Regions from separate parts of the Homo sapiens genome. Here regions 1, 2, 3 and 4 are each linked to region 5. Evidence: promoter capture Hi-C in 16 types of primary human blood cells and fetal thymus (Javierre and others, 2016). All regions are on one chromosome and are shown on one strand. The core of a region is centred on a gene start or on the middle of the fragment in contact, and the rest is flanking DNA. Distances in the headings are between cores, read along the strand shown.

Region 1 (4,073 bases), core at 194-2,693, 6.7 Mb before region 5:
GGCTCATGCCTGTAATCCTAGCACTTTGAGAGGCCAAGGCAGAAGAATCACCTGAGGTCAGGGGTTCAAGACCAGCCTGGCCAACATGGTGAAACCCCATCTCTACTAAAAATACAAAAATCAGCCGGATGTGGTGGCGTGCACCTGTAATCCCAGCGAGGGAGGCTGAGGCAGGAGAATCGCTTGAACCGGGCAGTAGAGGTTGCAGTGAGCCAAGATCACACCACTGCACTCCAGCCTGGGCATCAGAGTAAGAATTTGTCTCAAAAAAAAATTTACATCATTCCTTTGGGGTTTTTGTAGGGCTGGTAATGGACCGTTTACTACGTTTAAAAAAAATTATTAAGTCTTTGAGGAAATATTTACGCTTTCAGCTCTTCCCCAACCTCTCCCATAAAGCAAACAGAAATGTAAAAAGGTCACTTTGTAAACTCTTAAAGTGCCCATAGAAAGCTCACTACCTGACACCAGCAGTTGTCCTAAGCTGACATAACTCAATAGAATTAGAAATCAGTAACATGTTTTTTCTTTTCTTACAGGGAAAGACAAATTGAGTTTTAGCATGGAGTTAAGCAAATAAATCTGTAGTGGAGGAAATACAATTTCTCCTCAAGCCTCATAAGTTCACAGTTGGGACAGATCCCTATAACAAAAGACAGATTAACAAGAGAAAAACAAGTAATTTTATTAATATATGCAACGTACATCACACAGGAGAAAACTCAATGAAAAGGTAAACACAAGTAGTGGCTTACAACTCTGGACTATATAGCATCTTCCACAAAGAATACATTTCAGAGAAGTGTGACAAGACGAAGGAAAGCAGTTTTAGGCTTCCAGAGGCAGAAACTGTGGAAGGTAAATATATGTTAAGAAACTAATAGTTTCTTGTTTGTAGATTCCTCTGGTGCTGTCTCAGCTGATTAGAGCCATCTTCTCATCTTGGTATCAGGAAAGCATCTTTATCAAAGAAGTTTGTATGGCTTGCTACAGGTAGGAAAGGACAGTTAAAATAGCCATTTCTGCAACTACTGTTAGTCAAGCACCTTTAGCTCGAAATAATCAGTATGCCAAATCGGCATATTTGGGGGTGGCATGTTCAAATTTCCTTCAGATAAAAAGAACAGAAAGGTCAGAATCTGGCCCTTACATAGTAACTGCATGACAGATGTTGCACTTGAAAAATTGATACTTGGAGGAACAGCTATAAATATGTAAAAATAATTAAAACAAGATTCCAAAATCATGCCATAAAAGAAAACAAATTTCAGTTGGACTAAACATCTAAATGTTAAAAACAAAAATTTTGTAACTTTTGGAAGGCTGAATAGGACTATTTTTATGACATTTCCTATACAAAAACCAGAAAAAGCAAATCATTATGAAAGATTGGTAAAATTACGTTTTTAAAAATTCAAGATTTCATAACCAAAATATGAAGACAAACCAGACTAAAAAAGATAATTGGAACATACATAACAGATCATTAGTATTCAAAATATGTAATATCTAAAAACTGACAAGTAAAAAAAACAACATAGAAAAATGAGCAAAAATGCCTGTAATCCCAGTGCTTTATAGGAGGAGGCGAGATGGGAGGATTGTTTGAGTCCAAGTTTAAGGTTACAGTGAGCTATGATCCTGCCACCACACTCCAGCCTGAGCAATAGAGTGAGATCTTGTCTCTTAAAAAAAAAAAAAAGAGTAAAAGATATGGCCTCAGAAATCACACACTGCATTTGCTCAATATCCTGGTAGTTACAAAAGTCAGCACTGTAAAATGCAGGAGAAGGCTATACTGGGGCATGAACACCAGGAGGCCAGGGATCACTGGGGCCATCTGGAAGCTGGCTACCACATATATAAAACAATATTTTGTAGCGCTTTTAAAAAATATATTTGTATTAAAAATATAAAAACACATGCTATATTATGCCCCCTCTAGTGGTTACCTCTGGGGACTCTGGGGAGGGAGGAACGGGACAGGATCAAACAGGTAACAAAGCAAACTTCAAATGTATCTAACATTTGCAATTACATGCATATGTGTGTCTGAAGAAAATATAGCCAAATGCTAACATTTATTACATCTGCATGGTAGAAATACACGGATTTTCTTGAAATCATTTACCTTTCCTATATCTTTGAAATATGTCAATAAAGTTTTAAGGTAATGAATCCAAACAAATGGAAATAAAATGTGCTTTTAATAATAATTTATTTTTACACATTTTAAAAATTGCAATTTTCAGGAGATGTAAGAAGAATATTTTTCTAATACTGAAATAAGCATATCTTTGGTATAGAAATCACACCCTATGTGTTTATCTTTAACTAAAAAAACTAATCAAGAACTATGACCTAATATGTTAAACAAAACTATTCTTTGCCCATCCATCTGTCCCCTCTCATAGCCCCATTGTGGGGCATTAGAATATAGTTCTGTACCTATCTCCATATCTACAAAGAATTAAGATGTTGTATCAAAAATGTCCAGAAGTTATATATGGTAGAGAATTAGTTGGCTTAATCGTTGACACACAACACAAAACACCAAAAGCAACATAAGATACAGGATGCAAAATAGAACACTGTCACTAAGATCAAATAATACAAAAAAAATCACATCATTTAAATTTGATGCATTGCAAACAAAGTAACTTCTTTAGAATTATTATGTACACAACTTGCAAAGCTCAAAAAGTAATAGCACAGAGCCATAAATCTGATAAGGCACTTTAAAGATAGCAATCAAACATATACAAATATCAAATACAAACACTGTTAAACTGCAAAAGCAGTAACCACAGAAATAAATAGGGAAAAAATATGCATTCTTTCTAAACAGTCTTTCCCTTTCTGAAGTAAAGTCTTTAAAAAAAAAATCAAACAAGTACAAAAAATATTTATCATATATTTTTAAAACCTATCATCAAAGTCCAAATCTCTGTAAAAAAAGAATGTTTTTCTTCAAGTCAAAAAAGTTCAGATTCATACATTTCCTAGAGAAACAATGACAGTCTTCATGCTAAATATAGGAAGAAAAAAAGCTTTCAATTATGTTTGTTAACTCTTTTATTCAACAAACATTTAGTGAATGTTGTGTGACCCTGTTTTAGGTGCTGGGGATATAGAATAAAGACACAATCATTAGCTGTAGACAACTTAGCCTAACGGAGCTGGATCCACCACTGGCAACCTTAAAGTTACCTCCCTTGGTCCTTAAGATGAAACGCAACTTCAAAGTCTGCCATGCTTAGCATCTTGTTGCAAAACAAATAATGGTCTACCTAGTTTGCTACTGGTAGCACTGTGGCTCTATTAATATTAACCGTCTATTGATGAAGTTAACTTTCATAAAGGATTCTATGAAAGTTCAGAGGCATAAAGTATTTAAGGACAAACAAGTACTGGTCCGCAACAAAAATAGCATCGGTATTCTGCTTTCACAAAAACCAAGAAAACCAAGAAAAATTTCATTCTGAGTATATACAGAACTGCTGGACAGAGGTCATCCTATATGTGTGGTACATGTACAAAATATGACATAAGAAGTATGAATTATTGCAGTCATTATTAAACAACGAAGTATGCCAAATCAGTCATCAGGTTTCAAAGAATCATAGCCTTCTTTCAAGAGGTCCCGCCACGTTTTAAGGAAACGTGCATTTTCTGTACATTTGAAGGCAAGTTCTTCCACTTGAGCTGATACTGCAGATGTGGCTTCAAGAAGTTTGGTTAATGAAAAGGCTGCCTAAAAAAAAAAAGTCAAACATAATTTTATTTTTAAAATTCTCATCTCATTTTATAAGCAGGCTGAAAATAGCTTAAGGCTTTGAATCCAATGCCCATGTTATTTTCTTTCAAAGTAATCAGTTTTCAAACTACAGCACTGGCTCTTTCACGGAACCTAAGAAATTCTTTAATATTGAGTAGACTTTGAAGAAACAGGTCTGCTAGAAAAATATCCATTATGTCTGAGATATGACAAATCAGTATAGTTGTTTTCTTTTTTTTTTTTTTTTTTTGAGACGGAGTTTCGCTCGTTTCCCAGGCTGGAGTGCAATGGCGCG
Region 2 (4,008 bases), core at 81-2,580, 6.2 Mb before region 5:
TCAACTAAGAGGTGAAAGAGAAATATAGAGAAGCAGTTCCAGCAAGAGTAATATAAAAAGGTCTACAGATACAATTTGTAACTCAGATTCCCTTTCACAAGGTTGGGCAGGGACAGTCCCTTTGCTAGGAAGTCACACAAGCTGTTTAGTGCACACAGGTGACTTAAGGAACCCCAAAATGTTAGCTGACAATCTATTCCAAGTGTTTAAACTAGATGTTGAAAATCATGTTTGAAAAGTTCAACGCAGTAGCTCATACATAAAACTCATTGTGTCTATAGATATCAAAATAAGAACTTGTGGGGGGTGGGGGCAAACAAAAATAAATCCCTGGGACCAGAACAGCAGAGTGGTCCCCGATGCTTGGGCTGACCTTAACACACCTCTACGTGGCCGGGGCAAGGAGTGGGGGGGAGCTGAGGGAATCAGCAGGAGCGGTGACATCTTGAAGGACGAGGTATTGTTTCTGCACCATGTGGGTCCGGTTTGGAAATTTGAGCATCTAGAGGAGGAGGCTTGTTCTGTCCAAGGCAAAGCCAGACCTACCAATAAATGTTTCTGATTATGTCACAGAACTTGCCATCCTGGTCTGTCGCTAAGGAGTGATCAACTTTAAATCTGGAGTGTTTGTTGGTCTAGGGGTGGTAGTGGGTCTGGTGTTGAAACCTCTCTGCCTAATTTCGTGGTCATTTTACTGTCTGAGGTGCCAGAGTGGGCTTGGAAAGCAGGGGAGGGTGCAGCAAATTACAAATAAGCAAAATAAATCCTAAGAGGATTTATCGCCACAGAAGCAACTCGGACGCAACTCTTGGGCTCAAAAAGAATGCCCAGTACAGCCCGGGCTGGTGGGCCGGTCTTTTGCCCAAGGTTAGCTTTCAGCCCCTGGGCGGCGGCGTGGCGCCAGGAGCGGGCGGGGAGCAGCGACCCGACGCGGCTGGGTCTCCTAGTAGGGCGCGTCGGGTGTGGGGAGGGGGCGCGGCGTGAGACAGTGGGGGACACTGCGTGAGGAAAGCCCTGCGCTTCTCTCCGGGGCACCAGGACTTGCGCCCCCTCTTCGGGTCCAGGCCGCGCGCGGGACCCGACAGCCCGGCCGAGGGCTCCGCGACCCACTTGCGGCCAGAGCGCTGCTCACCTGGGCGCCGCCGAAGGTGCCGCTCAGACGCGAGGGCGCGGCCGCTGGCGGGCGGGGAGCGGGGAGGCGGGACCCGGCGCGACGGGGCTGCCCCGCCCCCCGATGATGCGGCGGCCGCCGACTCGCCCCCACGCTGTCACTCATTCCTCACCATGGTTGCAGCACAAAGCAACAAGCCCCAGAGGCCGCTTCCTCCCTGAGGAGCGGCTCCGGCGGCCGGAGAAGGCGCAGGAGGAGGAAGAGGCGGAGGAAGAGGAGGGGAATCGCCGCTTCCCAAACACTCTCTCCGAGGGGGCTGTGCGCGGCTCTCGGCTTTCGGCCCTCGGACGCCCGCGCCGGGAGTCCGAACCCGGGCTGTCCGCGGCCCCCTCTTCCCCCTCCTCCGCCCCGCGCAGACGAGGAACAAAGTTGCCGAGAGCGACTGGGCCGGAGGGCTGCAGCCCGGGCCGGGTGCTCTGGCCGCGGCGGCGCCGGCGCCGGGGCAGCTCCGCTCCGGGCGCGCTGATGGGGGGAGGCGGCGGCGGCGGAGCCCACAGCGGCGGCCCGAGCAGCAGAGGCGGCGGCGGCGGCGGCTGGGCGGCCCGAGGGGATGCAGCAGCAGTCGGGAGGGACGGCCGAGCCCAGTAGACAGAGACCAGGAGCGGCGGCCGAGGCGATCGGGCTTCGCAGCGCCCGGACCTGAGCCAGACCCACCTGGTCCGTCCTCCCGACCGGCGGCCGAGGCGCCCGAGGACTGGGGACGCGGAAGATCCAAGTGATTCTCGGAGACCCCTGGGCGGCGGCTGCGCAAGCCCCTGAGAGGAGGGGGCGACCCTCAGCGCCGTGGGGGAGGAGGCTCCGCCTGCCCACAGCCCTCCCCACTGCCACTCGTACCTCCCTAAAAATAACTCGGGCCCGCTGGGGCCAGGAGGAGCCGCCACTGTCCCCCGAGTGGAGCCGGGGAGGCGTGTCGAGCCAGGGCCGGAGGAAGCCGGCGGAGCGGCGAGGAAGAGGAGGAGGAGGAGGAAGGGGAGTTCCGCCTGCGGGCCGCATCGCACGGCAGCCTAGGGGCGCCGCGACCCTCCCGGCTGCGTCCAGCCCCTCGCGCCTGTACCGCGCTCTCGGCCGCCGGGCCCAGCCGAGCCGCCCCCCCGCGGGCCCCGCGCCGCCGCCGCCGCGGTTTGGCTGATTAGTCGCGGGCGGGCGGGCGGGCGCAGCGCGCAGGGCGGAGGCAGCAGCGGCGCTGGGCCGGGAGGAGGCCGGCCAGGGTGCGGAGCGGCCCCGGCCCGCTCCCAGAGGGGAGATGGCGTCCTACGTAGATAACAGCTTCCGCCAGGCGGTGATGAAGAATCCCCCCGAAAGGACCCCCCAGGTGAGAACGCGGCGGCCGCCTGCCCTTGGCCGGATTTCTGCCTCGCAGGCTGCGTCTTCCCCTGTCCCCCCACCTCCTTCCTGACACAGTTCGCCCCGAGCACCCCACTTCTTGCATCAGGACCCCCAACTTCCAAAGGCATCCCACCTCCGAGTCTTTTACTCCGCCTATCCTGGTTTTATTTTTCCCTCTCCTTGACATTCTGCTCCTTAACTCTTCCCTCCCCATGACTGACCTTTCCCACTATGTTGCCCAGCCGAGAGAGAGAGAGAGAGAGAGAGAGAGAGAGAGAGAGGGAGAGACAGAGAGAGAGAGAGAGAGAGTGTGTGTGTGTGTGTGTATGTGTGTGAATGTGTGAATTCTCTAGCTTTCCCTCTCCCCAGCCGCCCTCCGTGGCCTCTGAATCTCAGGGGATGGAGTCTCATCTCCCCTCGGGCAGCGACTCTTGCTCCCTCTGACTCCAGATCCGTTCCTCCCCTTGCAAGTGACCCTTGGAGTTCAGTGGTGTTTGAAAGGTATAGGAGGAAACCTGTACGGTTGTGCTAAAGACAAATCCATGCTGACCTTCAGTAAAACATTGAGGTGTTTGTATGTTTACTGTTTTGCTTTTATTTTTTAAAGGATACTGCTTTCAATTGAAGGGAAAAAAAGTTGAATAGCTAAGTTAGTGCTTTTAGTTTAAATTGCAGACATAGCTGCAGAGCAGGCATGTTCCAGTACACCCTCGGGAAGGGCACCCTGCGGATTCTTTTGGTGTTGCACAACCTTGTCAAAATTAGATAAGTTTGTTAACCTTTATACATTTGTTTACCTGCAGGCTTACTCTTCTCTTACTTATAGCGGCTGATAGGGTTGGATTTGGTTGTCTCAAGTTTTACTGGAGAGGGGGAAATTTTATAAAAATGTGGTAGCTTAATTTTCTCCGCCTTTAGTTGCTGACTGGATAATGACGCATATTCCTAAGCGTTGGGATGGTGACTATAGGAGATCCTGCCTGCCAACCCTCTTAAGACAAATAAGCCCTCCTGATCCTTGGGACCATCAGACATTTAGGATCTAATGCTTGAAAGTGTTGCTTCGCTTGTTAGATGTTGGATGCCATCTGTTCAAATCCAAATGCTCTCCTTCTCTGATGTTGATTATTATTTACTGTGGGGAGAGCATAATAAAATAGACTCTTCCCCTGGCTGCCTTTGGACAAGCCCCAAGAGTGGCACCTGGTACCGTTTTTGATTTTTCATTTTCCTTGATGGAGCTGTCACATCTGGGAGATCATGGATAGATTGCACATATTTATCAAACGTGTGGAAGATGGCTGTAATTTTACAAGAAAATTTATCTGTCTCCAGAAAGTTCCCATTCTAAAAGACTATTTTTATCCCAACAAGGAATGTCCTGCATTGATCTTGTTCTTCTCTTGGTGTTGCACACGCTGCCTTTCCTATGCCTTTCTCATCTATTTGTTTTAAAATGGTCAGTTGGATCAGTCTTCTGCATCTGAAAATGCACATTCCCTGTCTCAGTG
Region 3 (4,593 bases), core at 220-2,719, 8.0 Mb after region 5:
AAACATAGTTGTTGAAATTTTAATGAATGAGCTACACAGATGAGATAAAGCTAAAAATAAAATTAACATATTTTGCTGAAGAAATTAGACTGAATCACAGAAGAATGAGATGAACAATATTTTAAAAATAAAACAGAAACATTGGAAATAGAATAATGTTTATCAATATTGCAATATGTTTAATTAGTCCTAGAAAAAGGAAATAGAGAAAAGCACAAAGTGGCACTATTTTAGTATTTTTGATGCATTTTTTTCACAGTGAATGATATGAATTCAAATTTAGGAAGCATAAAGTAACCCAAGTAGCTTAATAAAAAGAAATCCACAATAACTTCAAGGTGAACTTGCAGATGTCAAATATATATGTGTGTATGTATATATATATATATATATATATATATATATATGTTTTTTTTCTTGAGAAAAAGTCTTGCTCTGTCGCCCAGACGGTAATGCAGTGGCACCATCTTGGCTCACTGCAACCTCTCCCTCCTGAGCTCAAGTGATTTCTTGTGCCTCAGCCTCCAGAGTAGCTGGGGTTACAGGTGTGCACCACCACACCCAACTAATTTTTGTATTTTTAGTAGAGATGGGGTTTCACCATGTTGGCCAGGCTGGTCTCAAACTCCTGACCTCAGGTGATCTGCCCGCTTAGGCCTCCCAAAGTGCTGGGATTGCAGGTGTGAGCCACCATGCCCAGCCCAAAAAATAATTTTAAAAGAGCCACAATGCCCAGCCCAAAAAATAATTTTAAAAGAAGCAAGAGAGAAAAGAAAGCTCACCTACAAAGGAAAACAGTTATACTGATGGCAGACTTCTCAGCAGCAACAGTGGAAGCTGGAAAACAGTGGAAAAATACCTATAATATAAAGTGCTGAGAGAAAATAACTGCCATTCTTGAACTGCAAGACTATGAGCAGGCCAGGTGTGGTGGCTCAGGTCTGTAATCCCAGCAATCTGGGAGGCTGAGGTGGGAGGACTGCTTGAGGCCAGGGGTTCAAGACCAGCCTGGGAAACATAATGGGGCACTCATCTCTACAAAAAATACAAATGTCAGCTGGGCATGATGGAAGGCACCTGTAGTCTCATCTACTCATGACACTGAGGCAGAAGGGTCATTTGAGCCCAGGAGATTGAGGCTGCAGTGAGCTACGATCTCATCCCACTGCACTCCAGCCTGAGCAATAGAGCAAGACCTTGTCTCAGAAAAGCTATGTGGGCAAATAAAAATTTTAAGGAAAATTGAGAGACTATCAACATACTAGCCCTAAAGGGACTACTAAATTATGTACTTCAGGAAGAAGGAAAATAATCCTAGAAAGACAGTATGAATAAAAGGAAGAGTGAGCATTATTTTTTAAAAAGGTAAACAGAGCTGCTGGTATAAGAAAAGGAAGGTAGATAAGTAGAAAACAGAAGCACAGAGAAATGGGAAAGTGCAAACTACAAAAAAGACCATCAGAAATAAATGCAACAGTGTGATTTCTTACATTCATGTAACTCCAGTCATAGAAAGTAAAGAGAGAAAATAGGGGAAAGGTATATTTGAAGATATAATAGCCAAGATTTATCTACAACTGATAAAAGACAGTTATTGTAATAAAGAAGTGTATAAACTAAACCTAAGTCTCACACCTTACACAAAAATTAACTCAAAATAGATAATAGTCTTAAATGTAAAATGTAAAACTACAAGACTTTTAGACAAAACATAGGAGAAAATCTTTGGGATACAAGCATAAAGAAAGAGTTCTTAGACTTAACATACGGCAATAGCATGATCTATGTAAGGAAAAACTGAACTTTATCTAAACTAATACATTTTCCTCTGTGAAAAGCATTAGGAGTAGTAAAAGGCAAATTACAGACTAGAAGAAAATACTTGCAAACCACATATCTGACAAGGAACTAATATCTGTAATATATAAAGAACTCTCAAAACTCAATAAAAGTCCAATTAGAAAATAAAAAAAAGACATGAACAAAAACTTACCATAGATGGTTTACAGATGGCACATAAGCAAATGAGATATTCAACATCATTAGCAATTAGGAAAATGCAAATTAAAACACAATGCCATATCACCATACACCTATCAGATTGGATAAAATAAAAATAGTGACAACACCAAATACTGGCAAGGATGCAGAGAAGCTGGATCACTCATGCATTGCTGCTGGGAATGTAGAATGATACAGCCACTGTGGAAAATAGTTTGCAATTTCTTAAAAACCTAAACATGAAACTGCCCCACAGCCCAGCAATTGTACTCTTGGAAATTTACCTCAGAAAAATGAAGGACTTTCTCCAAAGGTAAGTAGGGAGAAAAAAAGAAAGAAAAATACAGACTTACATTTTCACAAAAACCTATACATTAATGTTTATAGCAGCTTTATTCATAATATCCCCAAACTAGAAACAACCCAGATGTCCTTCACTGGGTGAATGGCTAAACAAACTGTTCTAAATCCATACCATACTACTCAGCAATAAAAAGGAACAAATTACTGATACATGCAACAGCCTGGATGAATCTTCAGGGAGTTACATTGAGTGGGGGAAAAAAAAATTCCAGGCCAGGCACAGTGGCTTATGCCTGTAACCCAACACTTTGGGAGGCTGAGGCGGGCAAATCATGAGGTCAGGAGATCAAGACCATCCTGGCCAACATGGTGAGACCCCATCTCTACTAAAAATACAAAAATTAGCTGGGTGTGGTGGTGCACATCTGTAGTCCCAGCTACTCTGGAGGCTGAGGCAGGATAATTGCTTCAACACGGGAGGTGGAGACTGCAGTGACCTGAGATCGCACCACTGCACTCGAGCCTGGCGACAGAGCGAGACTCCGTCTCAAAAAAGAAAAAAAATTCCAAAGGTTACATACTATATAAGCCCATGCCTTTTTGTATATTTTGTCTTGAAATGACAAAATTATAGAAATAAAGAACAGCTTAGTGGTTGCCAGGTGTTCAGAAGGCAGTGGGGACGGGAGGGAGTGGGTGAGGCAATAAAAGGGCAATTTGAGGGATCCTTGTGGTGATGGAAATGTTCTGTATCTTGACTGTATCAATGTCAATTCCTGGTTATGATACTGTACTACAGTTTTGCAAAATATTGTCATTGGAGAAAATGGGGTAAAGACACAGTGTCTCTCTGTAATGCTTCTTACAACTGTATGACAATATGCAATTAAGAGTAAAAGTTTAATTTTAAAAACTATAATAACAAGCTACTGGAGGGGGGCATTGAAAGATAAAAATAATTTGTTAAAGTGGGAAAGAAGAAAATGAAATAGGACAAATAGAACAAATATAAAATAAATGTAATGTGGTAGTTTTAACTTCGAATATATTGAGTAAGTATACCAAGACCAAGATTGTCAGACTGGTTACAAAATCAAAAACCCAATCATATGCTGTTTAAAGAGATATGCCATAAAAATGGCACAGAGGTGAAAGAAAAAGGATGGAAAAAAGTTTATCATAAAAACACTAACCAGAGACAGCTGATATGACTTCTCTAATAGCAGACAAAGTCAAATTTGTTTCGATAATACTACTAAAAACAAAAAGAATATTTCATAAAAGACTCAACAAATCAAGATAACTAGAAATCCTACCACCTATTGGGAAGCTGAAATGGGAGGATTGGTTGAGTCTAGGAGTTTTTAACCAGCCTGAGCAACATAGTAAGATCCCCTCATCAAAAATGAACAAACAAAAAAAGAGAAATATCATAGTCAATCCAATTGAAAATTCAGATGAAACAGACAAATTTCTTGAAAACACATTCTGTATTAGTTCGTTCTTGCATTGCTATAAAGAAATACCTAAGACTGGGATATTTATAAAGAGAAGAGGTTTAGTTGGCTCATGGTTCTGCAGGCTGTACAGGAAGCGTAGTGGCTTCTACTTCTGGGGAGGCCTCAGGAAGCTTCCAATCATAGTGGAAGGAAAAGCCGGAGCAGTTGTCTTATGTGGCAGGAACAGAAGCGAGAGAGAGAGGGAAAGGGGAAGCGTTACACACTTTTAAACAACCAGATCTTGTGAGAAGTCACTGTCATGAGAACAGCCAGGGGACGGTGCTAAACCATTCATAAGAAACTGCCCTTATGATCCAGTCACCTCCCACCAGGCCCCACCTCCAACAATGGGGATTACAATTCAACATGGGAATTGGGGAGGGACACAGATCCAAACCATATCAACATCTTAATGAAACTGACAGATAAAGAAATAGAAAACCTGAATGTTCCTCTGTCTATTAGCAAATTGAGTTTGTATGTAGCCTTCCCACAAATAAAATTCTCAGCATGTTTTGCTTCACTTACAAGTTCTATCAAATGAGCTGAGCATGTTGGCTCACATCTGTAAATCCCAGCACTTTGGGAGGCCAAGGCGGGTGGATCACTTGAGGTCAGGAGCTCGAGACCAGCCTGGCCAACATGGCAAAACCCCATCTCTACTGTTAATAAAAATACAAAAATTAGCCAGGCGTGCTGGTGTATACCTGTAATCCCGCCTACTCTGGAGGCTGGGGTAGAAGGATTGCTGGAACCAAGAGGTGGAGGTTGCAGTGAGCCAAGATGGTGC
Region 4 (4,488 bases), core at 1,611-4,110, 8.0 Mb after region 5:
TAACATTTATAATTGCAAAATAAACCAACTATAAAAAAAGAAACTAAGAGAGAATTGGTACTTTAATTACTTGTGTGTTTGCAAATAGGCTCCATTTTCCATGTTGAGTAGATTATAACCTTATTAACTATGCATAGGCCTAAGAAAGGTGGCAATGAACTGTGCATGTAAATTTTAAATGGGTACTTTGTGCAATTCGTTAAAAGAAGATACTCTATGAATATGATTCTATATATTGAAATCAGAAAACCTACCAAACAAAAACATCAGAAGCTGCTGCCATAATGACTATTTTCTACTGTAGGCTGCTTTGGAAATAATTCCCATATCCTTGCTTTGTAAGTTGGTAATATCACTATGCATTTCTACACATTTTATAAATTTGATTTATGCAGATTTTGATACACTGTATGTTTCTGTAGAAATTGTATAAATATTCAAAATTTTATTAGGATAAATTTGAGAAACTTACGTATATCTTAATTCTGGGTTGCTTGTTTTTTAGGTGACAAAAATAAAATATTGTATTTTAATTCATGGGTTTTTTTGGTGCTTGTAATCATTTCAAATCTAAACACTGCACATTTGAAAGAATTACTTGATTTTACTATTTACAAGACACACAATACCTAAAATATTATAGACCATAGTTATTAGTTGAGTATGTGCTTGACTGTTGCTTAGCATTCTGTTACACATGCTTAGAATACTCAGAGCTTATGTATCTGTTGGAAGGAAACAAAGGTTTATTTTTACCTGTTTGCCTATGTATACCAATTTTTTAAGTTTATACTTTTTTTAATTATAAAAAATTACCCCAGCAACATATATCCTTCTTGGCTGTATATAGAATTGCCTTCTTGGCTGTACTATAGAATTGCCTATTAGAAGCAAACATGCCTTCAAATCAAATTTGTTTACAACCTGACAGATCAGGTTAAGTGGAGAAAAATGAAGAGAAGGGAAGCCTACCACAATGAAATTAGAAATAGTCCATAGCACCTTGTACAAAACACATCTCAAGAGAAGATACGGTTGCTAACAGATTCAAGTAAGTGGCTGTATTGATTTGGGAAACTTTCTCTCAACTGACCTGTCTATTGTCATATCTCCCAATTCTTAGCTGCTGTAGAAGTAGGCTAAGAAATTTGAAAAAGTGACAGCACCAGACTAGAATAAATGGGAGTTTCTTTATTTCTTAAGTTTCTCATAGGGATCTTGGAATATATTTCATTTCTGGACATAATTGGGAAAAAAATCCATATATAATTCAATGGAAAACATGACAAGTACCTCACCAGAAAGCCAGATACCTAATAGGCCAATAGTTTAGGTACGTGAAAATTATTCCATGTGAAAGCACTTTAAGAAGTGTTGAGCATTATGAAACTGTGATGTGATAAGTGCATCTTGAAGAATATCTAAGATATTGTATCCTTCAAATTACCTTTAAATGAAATTTCTCTTGGGCTTTTGGTTTGAGCAAATAAACCACAGCTGTATTAAGAATTAACTAACCGAAACAAAACTAAATATTTGAATAGAAAATAGGGATGAATAGACTTCCACTTCCGGCTATAATTTTAAGTGGACTTATCTTGCTACCCCAAACAACAGTTAATGCTGGACAAAATATATGAAGCAACTGTTTTCAGGAATTGGATACTAGTCAAAGCAGACTGATATCTAAAAGAAAGGAAATACACAAGGTGAATCCCAGGTTCACCATGTCTGTCTCCATGGGAGGACATTCCCAACCATGGTGCAAGGAATGCGGCTCAGAATGGTGGTATTGCTGAACTGAGGAGGCGGAGTGGAGGTTTCCGGCTGCTGAAACAGCTAGAATCTACAATCCAGGTTATTGGAGGGGAAGTACGCTTGAGTGTCAGGAGAGCTATACAGGAATTTTTATACCACAGCCATTTGCAATAGCGAAAACCCTGGAAGCAACCTAAATGCCCATTGACAGGAGAAAGGATGAATTGTGATATAATCACACAATGGAATATTACAGAGATGAATATGAATAAACTAGTTGTTATAAACAAGTTTTAGGTGTACAGGATTGAATGAAAAAGGCACTTCCCAAAACACTTTATTCAGCACTTTTTATCAATCTCAAAAGTGACTAAAAGTAAACATACAGTATGTTAATACATTTATACATGATAGGTTAAATAACTTGTCCAAGTTCACAAATTTAGTACTGGGGTCAAGGACATAATCAAGTCCAGTACTCAATATCCCTCTAACTCTGTGGGATGAATATTTATTTGGTGCCAGGAAAAACTCTCCTAAAGAATGTATGTTTTCCACATAACTTCTTTAATTTTCCTCTCTACCTAGACTATCAAGAACCTCAGGGCTGGAACAGTGGCTCACACCTGTAATCGCAGCACTTTGGGAGGCCAAGGGGAGAGGACTGCTTGAGTCCAGGAGTTTAAGACCTGCCTGGGCAACATAGCCATGTGTGGTGGCACACATCTGTGGTCCCAGCTGCTTGAGAGGCTGAGGCAGAAGAATCGCTTGAGTCTGGAAGGTGAAGGCTGCAGTGAGCTAGAACTTTATCTAATACTCCATCGTAGTATCTGTATTAACCCATGTATATCGGCATATATACTTTTAGCTAATATTTATCGAGCATTTACTATTTCTTGCCACCAGGATAAGTGTCTTAAATGTATTACTTTACTTAATCCTCAAAAACATTCAAATTTTACAGATGAGGAAACCGAAATGTTACATGAGTTGTCTGATGTTACAAAACCAGTAAGAAAAACAGAGCCCTATTCAAATCCGTGATTCACTACCTTGCTTTTAATTTCTTTCATAACCTTGTTTTTTTCTTTGTATATTTTGTTCTTGTTTTTCTTTGTATAAGCCATTAATATTTTTTGGAAAAAATTTGGAGAATCAAAGAATTACACAAATATGAATGGATTATGGTATTTTACTATCTCTTATCTGCCCGAGGACAATGTCCAAGTTGATTGTCCTGCTTTTCTAATGAAAGACTAGATGATATAAAGGCCATTTCCAGTTCCAAAATTTAGTGCTACATAATGCTGAAAAGTTATTTTTCTTTCCTTTTAATGCGACAGTCTATTGCACTCCTGAGTTACTATTCTATAGATGTGGTAACACCTAGGATGAGGATCACCAGAAGTCTGCACTGTTAACTCTTGAAGAATAAAGGCCCAGGAGCACAATGAAGTTCAATTGAAACATTTTTATTTACCTTTGCTGCAGGGTAAGTTGAGTTTCCAATCAGGGCAAGAAGGGTTTCTGACCTATAAAAACAATGGTTAGCTGTAAGGCATATATAAACTTTTATTAACCTTGGACCTGACTCAAGTAAAAATTATTACACTTATATTTACTATTTAATTTATAGAAGTGGCAAACTGGTGACCTTTGGGCAGAATCTTACCTATAGACATGTTTTGACCCCAAAATTGGAATTCATTGCCAATACTGTATTTAAAATTCAGAATTCACGAGTTCTAGTTCCACTTGAAAATTTGAGAGATCTGGGAATCCTATATTCACATTTCCATCTAGCAACAGGACTGAGCTAAACAGTGGCTATCCCCTTTAACCTGGGTATTTGTATATTTACAAACATGCTTAGAACACTGTTTCTTGCATTAGAGACAAAGCAGTATACAAAAGTGAAAATTTTACTGCCCTCACAGAGCTTACTTTCAAAATGTTCTTCACTTCACCACATCCAGTCCTTTTCCCTGGCTAGTCTCTATAGGTCTTGGCATTTCCTAATGTCAATAAATACTCTGCCTTTCTCTAAAACTGTCAGTCTCCAACAGGAATCTCATGAAGAACTAATCCAAACATGGTGAGGTATGAAATTTCATTTTTAAAGGACTAGATCTTACACAGTGGCATAGCAGCTCCTTTAGCTTTCTTGATTTTATTCCCCAAGAAATAAAATCATTACTGCTTTGTAAAGCATTTTTAGTGATATATTTAGTAATAAAAAGCCAGGTTTAAGATAATGCTATTTTTCTACTATGTAAGACAACCTTATGATTTACAGTAAGTGAAACTGGTAAAAGGTAAAATACAAAAAAAGCATACTTTCCTCTATTGATCAAGTTTGCAGTGAGTGCTTTGTTTGATATATAAGAGAATTTAGGAAATTCTAACCCAGTGCCCTGCTTTTATAGATTAAAAGACCAAAAGTAGTGGCTGACATCGGGAAGGAAACGTGAGCCCCTACCTCAGTCCTTGCACCAAAATTAATTCCAGAAGGATCAAAGATGTAATCAAAAATTTAAAAAAAGAAACCAAAGGATAATTATTTTTATAGTCTTTTATGATCTTTGAGTGGGAAGGACCTCACTAGAAAAGTTTTAGTGAAAGAATTGCTAAATTTGCCTACATAAAGAAATCTCTGCATGAAAAAAGCATCATAAAGTCAAAAGGGTCATTTTCCTTAATATATAGTATTCCCAAAAACTATTAATAAAA
Region 5 (4,399 bases), core at 1,839-4,338:
TGTAATCCTAACTGCTGTTGCGTTATGAGACTTAACTTTATGAGGTGTAAAAGGGTCACATGAAATTACATAGCAGTGTGCTGACACCATCTTGGTTTAGTTTTGTCTTAAGCACACTGCCTCCTACTGACTTCCATGGCTGCCAGTGTCTCATTTTGGAGAGGAGGCTACGCTGGAGAATGGAACTATATTTTGAGTCAAGATTCTGGGGTTCTAATCCTGGCTTTAAGGAAAAAAGCCATGTGGTATATTGGAAAGCCCATGGGCATAGAAACAAAAGGGTTCTGGGTTTGCAGCTCCCTCTATCAATTGCTAGCTGTGACTTTCAACACATTACTTAACCTCTAATCCTTATTTTGTTTTTAAAATGGCAATAGGAGTGTCTGTGTCACAAGGTTGTTGCGTTTGAAAGAAATGATGCATGTTAATATGCTTGAAATCCAGCGGGCCCTCAATAAATTACAGCTATTGTTCCCTGAGCCCCCTGTTAATCTTCATTGTAGGGAAATAAGTGAGTTGAGCTGCTGCATCAGCATTTTTTTCCAGCTCTAAGCCTTTAAGGTTTAAAATAATCTGACCCCTCCATACACCTACACCTGCTCTGATTTAGAAAATGTAATACTGTGGTAGAATTCCAAATCAGAAATAATTGCTGACATTTACTGATCATATCTTGTATGCCAGAGACTGTGCAAAGGGCTTTACATACGTTATCTCATGTAATCATCATAAATAACTCTTCGAGGTGTAGGTATTATTATTTCACAGAAGTACCAGATAAGACAGAGAAGTAACTTATCCACTGCTAATAAAATGCCAAGCCTAGTAAGTGTGGCCCGATAGTGTGTGCTATTGATGCTCACCTGATAGAGGATGGCAGGTTTGGGCAGAGAGAAAAGTTGGGTGGCAGTGCAGTCATCACACAACCAATAGGATGGGGAGCTCTGGAGCTGGGATGGCCAAGCAAAGTAGCCCTACATTGGTTTAGGGGATTTTATACCCGTTTCAACCAGTTACTTGACTAGCTGTTGCCTAGAAAGGGGGTATACCCGTGGGGAGAGGTGCTTCTCTTTGGCAGTACTCAGCAGCTGGAGGAATGCCTGCTTAGGTCTTGAAGAGGGGGATCTGGGTGGTGTGCCACAGCATCCACTACAGGACCAACAGATTCATATGCCCACTGCACAGTATACACTGAGACAGCAGGGTTTGCAGAAGAGAAAGAGTTTAGTGATGGCAGGGTGCCGAGAGGAGATGGGAGGAAACCCTCAAATTCATCTCTCTGAGGAGTTCTGTGCTGGGGCTTTTAAGGGGATCCTGGAGGGCAATGGGCTGGAAAATTAGGGTCCTCGATTGGCTGGGGTAAGGAGGAATGAAACCATCAGGATGTGGGAACTGCATTCTTTGGTGAGTCAGCTCCTTGTCAGACCAGCTGAGTCAGTAGTTTCATCAGTACGAAGGACCTGAAAGGTTATCTCAAAGCACAAACTTAACGTTTCATAATGTTCAAGTTGTTGTCTATAGAGCAGTTAGGGGAAACTATAACCTTGTAACAGAGTCTACATGATTCTGAAGCAATAGGCAAACAATTATGAGGAAGGGGTCAGACAGCAAGCTGACCTAATTATTAATCCTCAGTGTGCTGCAAGCTTGGTTTAATTTCGTTCCCCCCACCCCTTTTTCCCAGATTAACTTCATAAAGTATATAGGCATGGTTTCAGACACCACTGTAAAGGCATCCTAAAGACAGGGCTGACTCTGACAACCAAGGGACAGATCCCATTTCTTTTCATTTGACGTGACCGCTGTCATGATACTTTACAAAGAATGTGTGTGCCAAACATGAGGGATAGACGAATAAGTACAGGTCACACTGAATCTAAAAAAGACACTTTTCAAGAGGGAACTTCCTCAAGGAGATAGTACCTGAATTGATGGGGCGGCATGGAGATGGCTGATTATTCCAGGCAGAAGGGCCAGTTTGAGCAAAAGCATGGAGGAATGAAACAATAGTATTCTGTTTTCAGAAGCTGTATATATTTGACACAATATACACATAATCAAAACATGTGTACGCCGTAAACACAATTTTTGTCAATTATACCTTAATAAAGAAGGAGGAAAAAGGGCCTTCACTAGCCCAAATGATGCCCCTGTGCGGTTTTTTCTTTAAAGGCACCTCTTCCGTTAAGTGAAAGTTTTAGTATATTATCACATCTGTACAGTTTTATTATTAAACCCCAGTACACAATATTTTAATGTTGAGAGATGGTGTAAACTGAGCTTTAGAGCTGCAAAGACCTGCGTCAAGCCCCCGCCCCCGCCCCCGCCCCCGGGCACTCATCGTCCAGCACAACAATTGCAACAACACCTGGGCGTTCTCTGCCCATGTAGCGAGGTCAAGGTCCTGGGAGCCGAACTCTCCCTTGATGTTCAATCTTTTTAAATCTTTCCCAGCCTTTATTTCTCATCTGCAAAATGACGATAATCGCATTTGAAATTCTCCGTTTTCAAAATGCAGGAATTTATTAAAGGATACGTAGGCTGGGGAAACAAGGGAGACGAAAGATCTAAATCTAAATGGTAGACCAGAAAAAGGAAGGCAAGGGTGTCTGGAAACACAAAACAGTCAACATAGATTTTAAGACTCATCTATACTCTCTTCTTCCCGGGTTTGGGAACTGCGGTTGCTACACAGGTCACATTTGAAATAAAAGTCCTGGGACGGCGGCCGGCGCGACACTCTCCCCCGCACAGCGCAGGCTCTCACTGGGAATCTGCCGGGACCGCAGTTGCCAAGGCGACTCCGCGCTGCAGGGCGAGGCGGCCATCCGTCTGTGCCCGCCCCCTCACGCCGTGGCGCGCTCTCACGCTTCCCCGCCTCCGGGCGCTCCGCGGTGCCGACCATTGGCTGGCTCTGCAGGTCTCACTATCCTCACTCCATCCGCGGAGCCAATGGCTGGGACCGCCAGGAGCTCGTTCGCGCGAGTCACACGATGTCGGCAACTGCACAGACCAATCACCGCGCCGAGAAGGCGGGGCGGGAGCTCTCGCAGGCCAATAACGACAGGACGGGCCGCCTGGCCCACCCGGCTCCACCCCCAAGCCAGGCGAGGCAGGTTCCGAGGTTGGAACACCTGGCGAGTCCTCGGTGTCGGTGGCCGGCAGTCATCTCGCGGCCGTTCAGGTGAGGGGGTTGGAGGAGTGGCTCATGAGCGAGGAAGGGGGAGCAGGCGGGCTCCCACCCGGTGCTCCGTGAGATCGAGGGGAGCGGGTTCTGGGTGCGGATGCACGCGCTGGGCGGGACGCTGGCAGTGGTACCCGAGACGGGGCGGAAGGAGACTGGAGTGAAGGTGGGCCTAGGCTAAGGTACGTGCTAGAAAGGATGAAAACGGAGTGAAATTCTTAAGTGATGGAACTAGGCTAGGGCATGTTTCTTGCCCTTTAAAATGTGTTGTCTTCGGGAGACAGGACGTAGAAGATAGTTGCAGCACAGGGTGATAGGCTGGCGAAAGTTATACAAAAGCAGGAACCACTAGAAGGAGGTAAGATGTAGTGTGCTTTGGGAGTAGTGGGGTTGGGAAGGGCGTCCGAGAGGAGGTTACTGAAGGATGACTAGGAGTTGAATGGGAGGACATCACCTGTAAGGGAACGATATTTCCGTGGGCAGAGAGGAATGAAGCAGTAGCAACCATGAGTGATCAGATACTGCAAAAATGTGAAGTGTAGGATGGCGAGAATGTAAGAAATGAAGAGTGAAGAAGTCTGGAAGGGCCTCGTGTGCATCAATCACAGCGGGGCTTGATCTTTATGCTTAGGGCAAGCACTCCCTTGAACTTTGAGTGTTTTAAGGAGGTTATCTCTGATGTTTAAATTTATATAGATCGTGGCATTGCATCTTAGAAATAAGGTTTAGGAAGGGCAAGCTTGGAGGCAGGGCAAGTCCAGAAAATGAAGGAGCTGGTGAAATCCGTGTTAAAGTGCCAAAGGACAGAGACTGGCTGACAGCTAAACTTCAAGGTTTCTGAGAATCCACAAATAACTAAATTTATCTAGTCAACCTGTTCCAGAACAGGCTTCCAGTCATTTAGGTTGCCCAAGAATGAGTAAAGGAAAAGGAAATTCAATTTTCCAAGACCTTGTTTCCCCTCTCCTCTTTAATTCCTTGTTCGGTTAGCAACAGTATATCCATTCCCTCGCTCCTTTGTGAAAAGTAAATTCCTGAATGTTAACTAAACCAAGTGTTTCTAAATTGGGTAAGAGTTTGAAGACTTAAGGCAGCAGAATGGGAGAGACTTAAAACGTTATGTCTGAGAATTAGGCATTAAAGGAGGCCTAGTATTTGGGCGGGGGTTGTGAGGAGCACATACTGAACCTTTGGACCTGTTGAGTGAGTTCATGT

Evidence for each region. The method cuts DNA at HindIII sites, captures the fragments that hold promoters and counts their contacts. A CHiCAGO score of 5 or more calls a contact.
Region 1: a contact is called between a fragment that was not itself captured here and the fragment with the promoter of MSMO1 in region 5, in 1 of 17 cell types (total CD4 T cells). The highest score is 5.1, in total CD4 T cells.
Region 2: a contact is called between the fragment with the promoter of RAPGEF2 here and the fragment with the promoter of MSMO1 in region 5, in 4 of 17 cell types (non-activated CD4 T cells, total CD4 T cells, fetal thymus and 1 more). The highest score is 11.0, in non-activated CD4 T cells.
Region 3: a fragment that was not itself captured here is called in contact with the fragment with the promoter of MSMO1 in region 5 in 1 of 17 cell types (naive CD8 T cells); the score reaches 5.4 in naive CD8 T cells.
Region 4: a contact is called between a fragment that was not itself captured here and the fragment with the promoter of MSMO1 in region 5, in 1 of 17 cell types (total CD4 T cells). The highest score is 7.5, in total CD4 T cells.

The regions. Positions count from the first base shown.
Region 1 is chr4:158,666,015-158,670,087 of GRCh38, forward strand. C4orf46 (chromosome 4 open reading frame 46) reads right to left here. Exons shown (of 2, transcript NM_001008393.4): 2 at 661-3,754. The coding sequence ends at 3,599. Among named protein-coding and RNA genes, the nearest start is that of C4orf46, 3.8 kb to the right of the region's middle. The HindIII fragment of the contact is 3,210 bases long and covers 1-3,048 here.
Region 2 is chr4:159,101,749-159,105,756 of GRCh38, forward strand. RAPGEF2 (Rap guanine nucleotide exchange factor 2) reads left to right here and starts at 1,331. Exons shown (of 30, transcript NM_001394067.2): 1 at 1,331-2,483. The coding sequence starts at 2,415. RefSeq lists an enhancer at 481-1,172 and silencers at 821-1,360, 1,491-1,710, 1,751-2,040, 1,789-2,083, 2,051-2,470. The HindIII fragment of the contact is 5,553 bases long and covers 1-4,008 here.
Region 3 is chr4:173,346,856-173,351,448 of GRCh38, forward strand. SAP30-DT (SAP30 divergent transcript) reads right to left here. Exons shown (of 4, transcript NR_183973.1): 3 at 4,511-4,593; 4 at 2,376-3,972. Among named protein-coding and RNA genes, the nearest start is that of HMGB2, 15 kb to the left of the region's middle. The HindIII fragment of the contact is 4,926 bases long and covers 1-3,932 here.
Region 4 is chr4:173,323,431-173,327,918 of GRCh38, forward strand. GALNT7 (polypeptide N-acetylgalactosaminyltransferase 7) reads left to right here. Exons shown (of 12, transcript NM_017423.3): 12 at 1-537. Among named protein-coding and RNA genes, the nearest start is that of HMGB2, 8.7 kb to the right of the region's middle. The HindIII fragment of the contact is 5,987 bases long and covers 1-4,488 here.
Region 5 is chr4:165,324,581-165,328,979 of GRCh38, forward strand. It overlaps MSMO1 (methylsterol monooxygenase 1), which reads left to right and starts at 3,089. Exons shown (of 6, transcript NM_006745.5): 1 at 3,089-3,184. RefSeq lists a silencer at 2,688-3,027 and an enhancer at 3,118-3,387. The HindIII fragment of the contact is 2,277 bases long and covers 1,645-3,921 here.